Regions from separate parts of the Homo sapiens genome. Here region 1 is linked to region 2. The links are contacts of gene promoters, found by promoter capture Hi-C in human tissues and cell types (Jung and others, 2019). All regions are on one chromosome and are shown on one strand. The core of a region is centred on a gene start or on the middle of the fragment in contact, and the rest is flanking DNA. Distances in the headings are between cores, read along the strand shown.

Evidence for each region. Contacts are between HindIII fragments. The study calls those that stand out against the background at their distance.
Region 1: a contact is called between a fragment that was not itself captured here and the fragment with the promoter of MTMR12 in region 2, in 1 of the 25 tissues and cell types used here (aorta).

What each region holds. Positions count from the first base shown.
Region 1 is chr5:33,353,715-33,359,818 of GRCh38, forward strand. No RefSeq gene overlaps it. Among named protein-coding and RNA genes, the nearest start is that of TARS1-DT, 84 kb to the right of the region's middle. The HindIII fragment of the contact is 7,182 bases long and covers 1-4,944 here.
Region 2 is chr5:32,309,943-32,315,617 of GRCh38, forward strand. It overlaps MTMR12 (myotubularin related protein 12), which reads right to left and starts at 2,997. Exons shown (of 16, transcript NM_001040446.3): 1 at 2,816-2,997. The coding sequence starts at 2,896. RefSeq lists silencers at 40-200, 2,326-2,465, 2,536-3,325 and an enhancer at 3,416-3,465. The HindIII fragment of the contact is 13,800 bases long and covers 1-5,675 here.

The DNA.
Region 1 (6,104 bases), core at 104-2,603, 1.0 Mb after region 2:
GCAGAAGTTTCTGCTGCCTTTTGTTCAGCTATGCCCTGCCCCCAGAGGTGGAGTCTACAGAGGCAGGCAGGCCTCCTTGAGCTGTGGTGGGCTACACCCAGTTTGAGCTTCTCAGCCACTTTGTTTACCCACTCAAACCTCAGCAATGGCAGACGCCCCTCTCCTAGCCTTGCTGCCCCCTTGCAGTTTGACCTCTTACTGCTATGCTAGCAGTGAGCAAGGCTCCATGGGCATTGAACCCTCTGAGCCAGGTGCGGGATATAATCTCCTGGTGTGCCATTTGCTAAGACCATTGGAAAATCGCAGTATGAGGGTGGGCGTGCCCTGATTTTCCAGGTACCATCTGCCACGGCTTCCCTTGGCTAGGAAAGGGAATTTGCTGACCCCTTGCACTTCCCAGGTGAGGTGATGCCCTGCCCTGCTTTGGCTCACATTCCATGGGCTGCACCCACTGTCCAACAAGCCCCAGTGAGATGAACCCAGTACCTCAGTTGGAAATGCAGAAATCACCCGTCTTCTGCATTGCTCACGCTGGGATCTGTAGACTGGAGCTCTTCCTATTTGGCTGTCTTTGTACCCTCCCCCATGATTTGTGTTATATTCAAGTTAGAGACTGATGCAGATACAAGACCCTAGAGAGGTTTTTTTGTTTTGTTTTCCCTTCTGCCACTTTGACTGGTAATGTTCCAGATGGTGGCTGCTTTGTCAACCTTGGTCCCAGAGTAGGGACAATAGTGTAGTGCAACAAAATCCTCTGCTGGGTCACAGTGGACATGAGTGGGATCAAGGAACATGGCTTTGTTGTTTCAAGCCATTCAGATTTTGGTATGGCTTGTTACTACAGCCTGACCTAGCATGGTGAATAGAAGCACTTAAGTTTGTACATAGCAGCTGACTCACCTGGTACCAGATGCTAGTTTCAGCAGTTCATCCCTCTTACATAATTTGAAAGCTGAAAGACAGAGCTCCTCCCTCACTCAATATTGTTAGGAAATAATTCAGAACTGTTGCTATTTCCTTATCTGTGAAATTTGCCATTATTGCCACTATACATACACACACACACACACACACACACACACACACACACACACCATTCTCGGTTATTTTTTCCCTTCAAAAACAGAATTCTGCCCAGGGGCTGGTTTTAAAGTCCAAGGTTTCTTCACTTCTGCCCTGGTACAGTGACTCCCAAGATAGATGCATGTAATTCTTGTCCAAAGGACTACATTACAGCATCATGCAGACATCCAGATACTCAGTTGAATCACATGTGTCATGTTCTTTTGTTCACAAAATGCCATCACCACACAAAAGAATCCTGTGTTGTTTTCTCTGGTGGGTGGTTAGGGTGGGAATACATTATTGAAAAAGGTAGGGAAATGTTCAAATAAAAATTACAGACGGAATTTCTGATATGTAGCAGAAGGAATTTGACCTTTAACCAAATGGTTAGGTCCAAGAAGATACTGGAATAGTAATTTAATTTTAGAAACTCTATCAGGAACCACAAGACAAACTACCTCAGCTCATACCAATCAATTATTTATCCAAGTAGTGATTGTAAGACACAGTATGTCACTTAATCGCCACTGACTCTTTTTTCATAATTTCATGTGTTTTCTCTCGTTTACCTAAGAAGGCTATAAATAACTAAAGGCAAAAATATCTTATATTTCAGTTAAACCAAATACATCTCCTGGCAACACTGAGACTACAGAGTGCTCAATCAATAATATCTTTTTAACACATTTTTTTTCTTTTTCTTTTTTTTTTTTTTTTTTTTGAGACGGAGTCTCGCTCTGTCGCCCAGGCCGGACTGCGGACTGCAGTGGCGCAATCTCGGCTCACTGCAAGCTCCGCCTCCCGGGTTCACGCCATTCTCCTGCCTCAGCCTCCCGAGTAGCTGGGACTACAGGCGCCCGCCACCGCGCCCGGCTAATTTTTTGTATTTTTAGTAGAGACGGGGTTTCACCTTGTTAGCCAGGATGGTCTCGATCTCCTGACCTCATGATCCACCCGCCTCGGCCTCCCAAAGTGCTGGGATTACAGGCGTGAGCCACCGCGCCCGGCCTTAACACATTTTAATGATACTTTTGACACCACCAATTAATTTAAAACATAATTTGCTAATAACAAAACCTAAATTAAGGATAAAGTTTACATTTAGACAGCAAAAACTAATTTTAATAAGAAAGCCCTAAAGATGATTTTATTGTTTTCTTTGTAATTTTTTCATAGTAGCTGTAAATACCCTTGCTTTGTATTTTTTATTAGCTATAATTCAGTTTAAAATCCCTTTATGAAGTCATCCATGACTGTCATATATTTAATTGCATGGTTAATTTTCCATTATTAGGAAAAATGAAAGTTGTGATATATTCAAAATGTTTACATATGTCCAGAGAATATTCAAGAATACATCCACTGAACCTTTTGATGTCATCAGAATTATAGTATGTGGCATCTCTTACAGCTATAATAGTAGAATGAATACAACAGAGATGTTATTTTCTCTTTGTAGACCAAGTAACATCAGTGCTCCTATTTTCATTTTCTCAAATATCTAGCTAGAACTCATTTCAAGAAATGTCAAAATATAAAAGCCAAAACTTATAAAACAAGTAATTAAAAGGTTATAATTTACTTGAGGAAAAAAGGAATATTTCTTTGCATGGTGAGCCCCTCTAAAGAATTTTAAATAATTTGATATATTAAAAATCAAATTACTAAAGTAACAGAGGAGTCACTATCTAGGAATCAAACTGGCTGTGTTCTTTCCTAGTTTACACCAATTATTATTATCATTATTATTATTGTTGCTGTTGTTGTTATTTATTTCTTTTTAAAAGAAAGGATCTCAGTCTGGTCAACGTGGTGAAACCCCATCTCTACTAAAAATAACAAAAATTAACTGGGTGTGGTGGCGGGCACCTGTAATTCCAGCTACTTGGGAGGCTGAGGCAGTAAAATTGCTTGAACCCAGGAGGTGGAGGTTGCAGTGAGCTGGGATCACGCCATTGCACTCCAGCCTGGGCAACAAGAGCAAAACTCCATCTCAAAAAAGTTAAAAAATGAAAATAAAAGAAAGGATCTCACCCTGACCCCCAGGCCAGAGTGCAGTGGCACAATCATGACTCACTACAACCTTGACATCCCAGGTTCAAGTGATCCTCCCACCTCAGCCTCCTGAGTAACTGGGACCACATGCGTGCACCACCACACCGGCCTAATTTTTTGAAAACACTTTTGTAGGGACAGGGTTTCCTTATGTTGCCCAGGGTGATCTCAAACTCCTGAGCTCAGGCAATCCTCTTGCCTCAGCTTCCCATAGTGCTAGGATTACAGGAATGCGCCATCATGCCCAGCCAAAACTGCCCTTTTAATCTCTGGTGATGGCTCTATCTACAAAATTAAAGATTTTTTTTAATAATAATATAACAAATCTCAGACCTAGGATTGAACACCCTTTCTACTTTGAGTCTGGATAAAACATAATCTTCACAGCCACCAAAGCTAAATATCTCTCTAAATCAGCCTTCTTCTTAACTTAGATCTATAGGATCCTGTCTCTCTCAGGGTTTTGGTCTCTGACTGTTTCAATGATTCCCTCTCCACTGATCTCATGTTCTCCCCTCCTTCCAACCGCAAGAGAGGTAAAATGCTTTCCTCATCCCCTCTGTTGTCCAGTCTCATGGGGAAGACAAAGTCATTGGGGTTGAGAATAGCCAATGAATAGGTCAAAGGCAAAGACTGAGACCTGGAGAACAGGAAAGCCTCACCAGACAGCATCAGTGATAACTGGTGGGGTTGGAGAGAGGGAGTGCAGACATAAAAGGACTCTTCCTGCTGAGAAAAATACTTAATATTAGGTATTTAAATGTAAGAACTGTCTTGCTATAATAAACGTCAGTTGGCCCCAACTTTACATTTTAGGAGTAAACTTCCCAAACTATTTTTATTTTAAAAAGACAAATGGAAATAAGCCTTGAAATAAAGATGCATAAGTTAACTAAAATGTCAAATTTCTTTGCTTTATGCTGAACTGATGAGAAATCAGCATGTTAATTTTAGTTATCTCATGATTAAGAGTTATAGACATCTCATTTAATACATAAGAAAGTGACTTCTTTATGATAAATGCAGTCTGAATTGTTTTTCTGTCTAAATTTTGAGTTTTTAGAAAACTCTTTTAAAAAGTTAGGAAAGAGAAACTGTAATTAATTAAAAGAGATTTATGAGATATAGCAACCAAATAAAATGTGTAGGCTTTGTTTGAATCCAGATTCAAACAAACTGTTAAAAAATATTTTTGAGGGGCCAGGACCAGTGGCTCATGCCTGCAGTCTCAGCTGCTTGGGAGGCCAAGACAAGAGGATTGCTTGAGCCTAGCAGTTTGAGGTTACAGTGAGCTGTGATCATGCCACCATATTCCAGCCTGGGCAACAGAGTGAGGCCCCATCTCTAAAAATATATATACATATTTTTGAGGCAATAAGAGAAATTTCAATATTAATTGCGTGTTAAATGATAAAAAGGAATTATCACTAATTTTGTTAAAAATGATGATGGCCTTGCAGTTATAAGAAAAAAAATCCTTATCAATTGGACATACATACTGAACTATTAACATATAAAATTGCGGGATGTCTGGGGATTTGCTTTTAAAATACTCTGGGCAAAATAAAAGGAGAGCAGAGAATTTAAAAGAAACAAGATTGACAAAAAGTTGATAACTGTTGAAGTTGGGCAATAGATACATGGAGACAATTACACTTTTTTAATGATTTTTATGTATAAGATTTCCATAATAAAAAAATTAGCTTTCAAAATATGTTTGCAACAACGGCATTCACAGGGAAAATAATACAAGGAAAAATGTTAGAAACTGCTCTTCATCATTTGGCACAGGGAATGTGTAAATCGAGAGATTAAAGGAGAAAGAGATCAATGACATAGAATGGTGAAAGAAGATTTCAACAAGGAGGAGCAAATGGAATTAGAACTTAAGGAATCATAATGGGAAACAATTTAAAATCAGATAAATAGATTTTGATTAGGAGAGAGATTTTCTTTAATGAAAGACAGGAATAATGACCCAAACCCCAGATCATGGTATAAGAGATCTAAATTAAGTTTATGGGAAAAATAATAATAAAGAAGTCAATAATAATAACACAACTGGCAGCAACTGAGTGCTTATCACGTGCCAGGCACTATGCAAAACACTTTACATTAGTTCATTTTCATGTTGCTGATAAAGACATAACCAAGACTGGGCAATTTACAAAAGAAAGAGGTTTAATCATCTACAGTTCCACATGGCTGGGGAGGCCTCACAATCATGGCAGGAGGCAAGGAGGAGCAAGTCACATCTTACGTGGATGACGGCAGGCAAAGAGAGAGATTGGGCAGGGAAACGCCCCCTTGTAATGCCATCAGATCTCATGAGACGTATTCACTATCATGAGAACAACACAGTAAATACTTGCCCCTATGATTCAATTACCTCCCACTGGGTCCCTCCCACAACATGCGGGAATTTAAGATGAGATCTGGTTGGGGACACAGCCAAACAGTATCATTCCACCCCTGGCCCCTCCCAAAGCTCATATCCTTACATTTCAAAGCCAATCATGCCTTCCCAACAATCCTCCAAAGTCTTAACTCATTTCAGCAGGCCAGGTGAAATGGGATTCAGGCCTGTAATCCCAACACTTTGGGAGGCCAAGGCAGGCAGATCACCTGAAGTCAGGAGTTCAAGACCAGCCTGACCAACATGGTGAAACCCTGTCTCTATTAAAAATACAAAAATTAGCCACGCATGGTGGCACATGCCTATAATCCCAGCTACTCAGGAGGCTGAGGCAGGAGAATTGCTTGGACCCAGGAGGCAGAGGATGCAGTGAGCTGAGATTGTGCCACTGCACTCCAGCCCAGGTGACAGAGTGAGACTCTGTCTCAAAAAAAAAAAAAAAAAAAATCTTAACGCATTTCAGCATTAACTCAAAAGTCCACAGTCAATCCAACATCTCATCTGAGACAAGGTAAGTCCCTTCCACCTATAAGCCTGTAAAATCAAAAGCAAGTTAGTTACTTCCTAG
Region 2 (5,675 bases), core at 1,747-4,246:
GTACGGAGGTTCCTCAAAAACTAAAAATAGAGCCACCATATGATCCGGCAAGCCCACTGCTAGGTATACACCCAAAAGAAAGGAAATCAGGGCCAGGCACGGTGGCTTACGCCTACAATCCCAGCACTTTGGGAGGCTGAGGCAGGAGGATTGCTTGAGCCCAGGAGTTTGAGAGCAGCCTGGGCAAAGACAGCAAGACATCACCTCTACTAAAAATTTTAAAATTAGCCAGGTGCTCTGGCATGCACCTGTAGTCCCAGCTACTTGGGAAAATGGCTTGAGTACAGGAGGTGGAGGCTACAGTGAGCTGTGATCACGCCACTGTACTTCAACCTAAGCGACAAAGCAAGATCCTGTCTCTAAAAAAGGAAGAAAGGAAATCAGTACATGGAAGAGAAATCTGCACTCCCATGTTTATTACAACACTATTCACCACAGCCAAGATTTGGAAGCAACCAAAGTGTCCATCATCAACAAATGAATAGATAAAGAAAATGTGGTACATACACACGAGTACTATTCAGCCATAAAAAAGAATAAGATCCTGTCATTTGTAACAATGAACAGAACTGGAGGTCATTATGTTAAGTGAACTACGCCAGGCGCAGAAAGACAAACTTTGCACGTCCTCACTTATTTGTGGGAGCTAAAAATTAAAACATTTGAACTCATGGAGACAGAATGATGGTTACCAAAAGCTGGGAAGGGTAGCAGGGGAAAGGGAAGTGGGGATGTTTAATGGGTACAAAAACACAGTTAGAATAAGATCTAGTAAGTGATAGCACAACAGGGTGACTACAGTCAACAATAATTGTATATTTTATAATAACTTAAAGAGTATAATTGGATAGTGTGTAACACAAAGGAAGGATAAATGCTTGCAGTGATGGATACCCCATTCATGCATTGTATGCCTGTATCCAAAGATTTCTTTCTTTTTTTTTTTTTTGAGATGGAGTCTCGCTCTGTCGCCCAAGCTGTAGTGCAGTGGCGCGATCTCGGCTCACTGCAACCTCTGCCTCCTGGGTTCAAGCGATTCTCCTGCCTCAGCCTCCCAAGTAGCTGGGATTACAGGTGCGCACCACCATGCCTGGCTAATTTTAGGGTTTCACCATGTTGGCCAGGCTGGTCTCCAACTTCTGACCTCAGGTGATCCACCCACCTCAGCCGGCCCAAAGTGCTGGGATTACAGGTGTCAGCCACCATGCCCAGCCCAAATATTTCATGTATCCCATTAAATATATACACCTACTATACCCACAAAAATTTTTTAAATGTTTAAATGTTTTAAAAAGACACAAAGAGAAATTGACCACATTGCTTAAATGTGATACCACAAGGGAAGCCCGCTGAAACTTTAAGATGACCCTGACTCCACATCAAGTGCTAACAGAGGAAATGGTTTGTATTTTACAACTAGGACTAAAAATAAGACCCATTTTAAGAGCACTTTCCCCTGGAGAAAACACACATATCTTGAATTTAAAGATACATATGCAAATGCCTCAGGCCCCAGGTGGTCTTTACGGAAGCAGTCCCTGATCAGATCTCTCATCCACAGCCCACGTGCTTCTGCATTACAGAGGTGGGAAGACATCTGCAACAAATTTGGCGGTGCTTCTGCACTTCTGCTGGAGAGAAGGGCAGAAAAAAACCTTTACAGATGCAAAACAAGAAGGCTTCTCATTAGGCATTTGGATTAAGAACTATTGCTCAAGAAGCCCTGAGCAAGGCCTACAAGTTCTGATCTCTCTAACCTCCTCTCCTATGACTGTCCCCCTTGTCCATGGGCCTCTGCCATGCTGGCTTCCTTGACGCTCCGCCAACCCTTCAGACACACTCCCACCTCACGACCTTCCCGGGGGCTGTTCCCTCTACCTGGACGACTCTTCTCTCAGACCTCTCGTATCTTCAAGTCTCGGCTCAAATGCCACCTTTGCGAGGAGGAAAAAGATTTCTTTTCTTTCCCATGATATTTATCACCTCCTACTACACCGTATAATTTACTTAATTATCTATAATTCACCCCGTTTCTCCTTTCCCCCTCAAATAAGCTCCAGGAATGCAGAGATCTCTGTCCTGTTCACTGATGTCTATCACAAGCACTTAGTGCCTGACACACAGTAGGAGCTCGAGAAGTATTTTCTGAATGAATGAACAAATTTCTTGACCTGAAGATTCAGAAGAGTAAGAAGTGGGTGGAAAGGATGATGGTGAGGGGATGAGGAGAAAGAAGCGACAGCGGAGAATTCCCAAGGGAGAGACAAGCAGAGACTGGCTGAGGCCAGGCCGACCCCCTTTTCTCCCCGCAGCGCTGACGGGAGGCGGACGTAGGTGCAGGGCATCCCGCCAGCCGCACCCGAGGCACTCAGACGCAGGCAGCGGAGGCCGGCGGGCTTCTGGGCTCACTGAGAAAGTCCAGAGGCAGGACGGACCCACGCGGGCTCCGAGCAGGCCCCGTTGGGGGCTCCGACCCACGGCCCTACCCCTCCCAGCAGTGCCCACAACCCCAGGTCCTCTCCAGAATCCCCAGGGGCGTTCCGGGCCGCAATCCCTTCTCGGCTCGGGCCCCTCCACCAGCCTCCAGCGCTCGGGCCCTGCGCTCAGGCACCTGCCTGCCTGCGCCGGGGTCCCCATTCCGGCCCGCGCGGAGGCCCCAGCGCGCTCCTGCGGCCTCAGCCCGCCTGGCTGCCCCGTCGCCCGGCACAAGGGCAGGAAGCGCTCCGCGGCGCTCCCCGCTGCAAGGAAGGGGCTCCCGGCGCCCCTCGCCCCGGCCGCCCCTGCCCGACGCCCCGCCTGCGCGGCGCCCCCTCACCTCAGGGCGTACGTACGACACGAAGGAGGGCTTGGGGGCCTTGGTGCCGCCGCCACCGCCGACTACTCCTTTCCCCAGCATACCGCCGCCCTGGGAAGCAGCGACGCGCGGACGCAGAGGCGGCGGCTCGGGCTCCAGCTGGGGCAGCAGCGGCGGCCACCAGCACTAGCGGCTGGGGCTCCGCCCATCCCCAAGGCCGCGACCGCCGCGATGCCGCCCGCATCCGGCTCCGCCGCTGACACCGCTCGCCCCGCCCAGGCCCGTGGGCCCCGCCCATCCCGTGCGCGGGCCCAGAGAGCCGGGAGACCGCAACTGGAGGCCACGCCCCCCCATCACGTCAGGAGAGTTTGACCCGCCGAGATTCACCACCTTCCTGCGGCAGAGCCCGCCCTCATGCTTTCTCTGATTGGCCCGAGGCGCTGCCGGCCGAACCCCGCTCCCAACCCATTCTTGAGTGCACTTGGAGAGATGTTTCCTCCAACCAATCCAGAGAGCGTTCTCTCCGGACTTTCCAACGATTGGATGGCGAGGATAAAACCGTCGTCCAATGATCCTGCAGTCACCAAGTTGTCGTTAGCAGGGGTTCACGGCAGTCGTTTTCTTCCGTTTGCTTGTGTCTTTGGAATAAAACGTCCAAAAATGGGATGTATGGAATCTTGCTATAGGAGTTCCCAACTTACAGCGATGACGTTCAAGGTTTTTTATTTTATTATTATTTACTTTTGAGACGGAGTTTTGCTCTTGTCGCCCAGGCTGGAGTGCAATGGCGCGATCTCTGCTCATTGCAACCTCCGTCTCCCAGGTTCAAGCGATTCTCTTGCCTCAGCCTCCTGAGTAGCTGGGATTACAGGCGCCCGCCACTATATCCAGCTAATTTTGTGTGTGTGTGTGTGTGTGTGTGTGTGTGTCGTTCTGTCGCCCAGGCTTGAGTGCAATGGCGTAGTATAGGCTCACTGCAACCTCTGCCTCCCAGGTTCAAGCGATTCTCCTGCCTCAGCCTCCCGAGTAGCTGGGATTATAGGCGCCTGCCATCACACCCGGCTAATTTTTGTATTTTTAGTAGAGACGGGGTTTCACCATGTTGGCCAGGCTAGTCTCAAACCCCTAACCTCGTGATCCGCCCGCCTCAGCCTCCCAAAGTGTTGGGATTAGAGGCATGAGCCACCGCGCCATGCCGCTAATTTTTGTATTTTTAATGGAGACGGGGGTTTCACCATGTTGGCCAGGCTGGTCTCAAACTCCTGACTTCAGATGATCCACCCGCTTCGGCCTCCCGAAGTGCTGGGATTACAGGCGTGAGCCACCGCGCCCGACCTCAAGGTTTATTATTTTAAATGTAAACAAAAATGAGACAAACGATGACTCACGCCTCTAATCCCAGCACTTTGGGAGGCCGAGGCGGGTGGATCATCTGAAGTCAGGAGTTTGAGACCAGCCTGGCCAACATGGAGAAACCCTATCTCTACTAAAAATACAAAAATTAGCCTGGTGTGGTGGCGGGCGCCTGTAATCCCAGCTACTCGGGAGGCTGAGGCACGAGAATCGCTTGAACCAAGGTTGCAGTGAGCCAGGATCGCGCCACTGCACTCCAGCCTGGGTGGCAGAGCAAGACTGTGTCTCAAACAGAAAAAAAAAAGTGTCAAATCAAGTGTTAACAAGGCAGTGAGGAATAAGTTTGAGCGTTTGATAATAAAAGACTTTGTCAACTTCATTTTTCCAAACCTTTCCCTTCTTTGTGTTTCCAACAGGAAGAATATCAAGAGCCCTTAAGAGACTTCTATTTACTCTACGAAGTTATTGATAAAACCCTCATTTTTTAGTCAAGATTGCAAAGAAAATTCATTTCAGTTCTACATTTGGTGCCAAGCGTTGTTAGTTGCAGATAAATAAGATAGAATCCAGCTCTTAAGAAATTCAATCTAGTGGAAAAAAACATAAATATTTGCAGTTAATTTTTTAGGCGTCAGGCACTGTGCTAAGTACTCTCATTGGTGACCTTGATTTTTACCCTCTTAATCTCCATGTGCTCCCCCTTCCCAAATACACTCCAAGTAAATATAAAATCTTAGTGAAAACAAATGTGCTTGCTTTTGCAAACATAGTTTCAACGCAAGTCCTGCAGCTCCGTTTCCAGCTAGATTGCCACCTGTAAGCCAATATTTGGTATAGCTGTGCTGCAGCCGCCTCTGAGTTTCCTTATCCCAGTTTCCAGGTGACAAAACAGAGATGCAAGTAATTTGCCCAGGTCTCACAACTAGTCACTGAGAGAGCTGGGATTTCAACCCGGGTTTGTCTCATTCGAAATCCCAAGTTCTTAACATTATAATTATACAAATTAGAAAGGAGCACAATGAAAGTGTGGTCAATTCTATTTGGGGAGTCCAAGTTGAGGCCATCCTTACAAGGTTGAGAAGAATTCTGCACAAAAATAGAGTTATAACTAAGCATTAATCAGGCTGCAGTTCGGCCTGCTTCTTTGTATTAATAACTTCAGGTAACACTAGGTACTGACCATTTGCATCCCTGTTGTTTCAATAGGTAGGATTTCTGGCTCTGGAATCATAAGGGTTTTATTTAAGAATTGCTTAGGCAGATCCTACGTTCCAGCAGAACAGCCGACATCAACCAGTTTAAAGACCGCCCCCGCCCCAACACACACACACACACACACACACACACACCCACACACACACAGGAACCGAATCAGTGCGAGAATACAATTTCTTCATCTCTCTGTCTCATGACTTTACCCTGCACTTTTCAACCAATTGATGATCTCCACACTTTGGTCCACTTCAAAACCCTTAAATACCCTAGCCCCAGGCAGGGTGCAGTAGCTCACACCTGTAATCCCAGCACT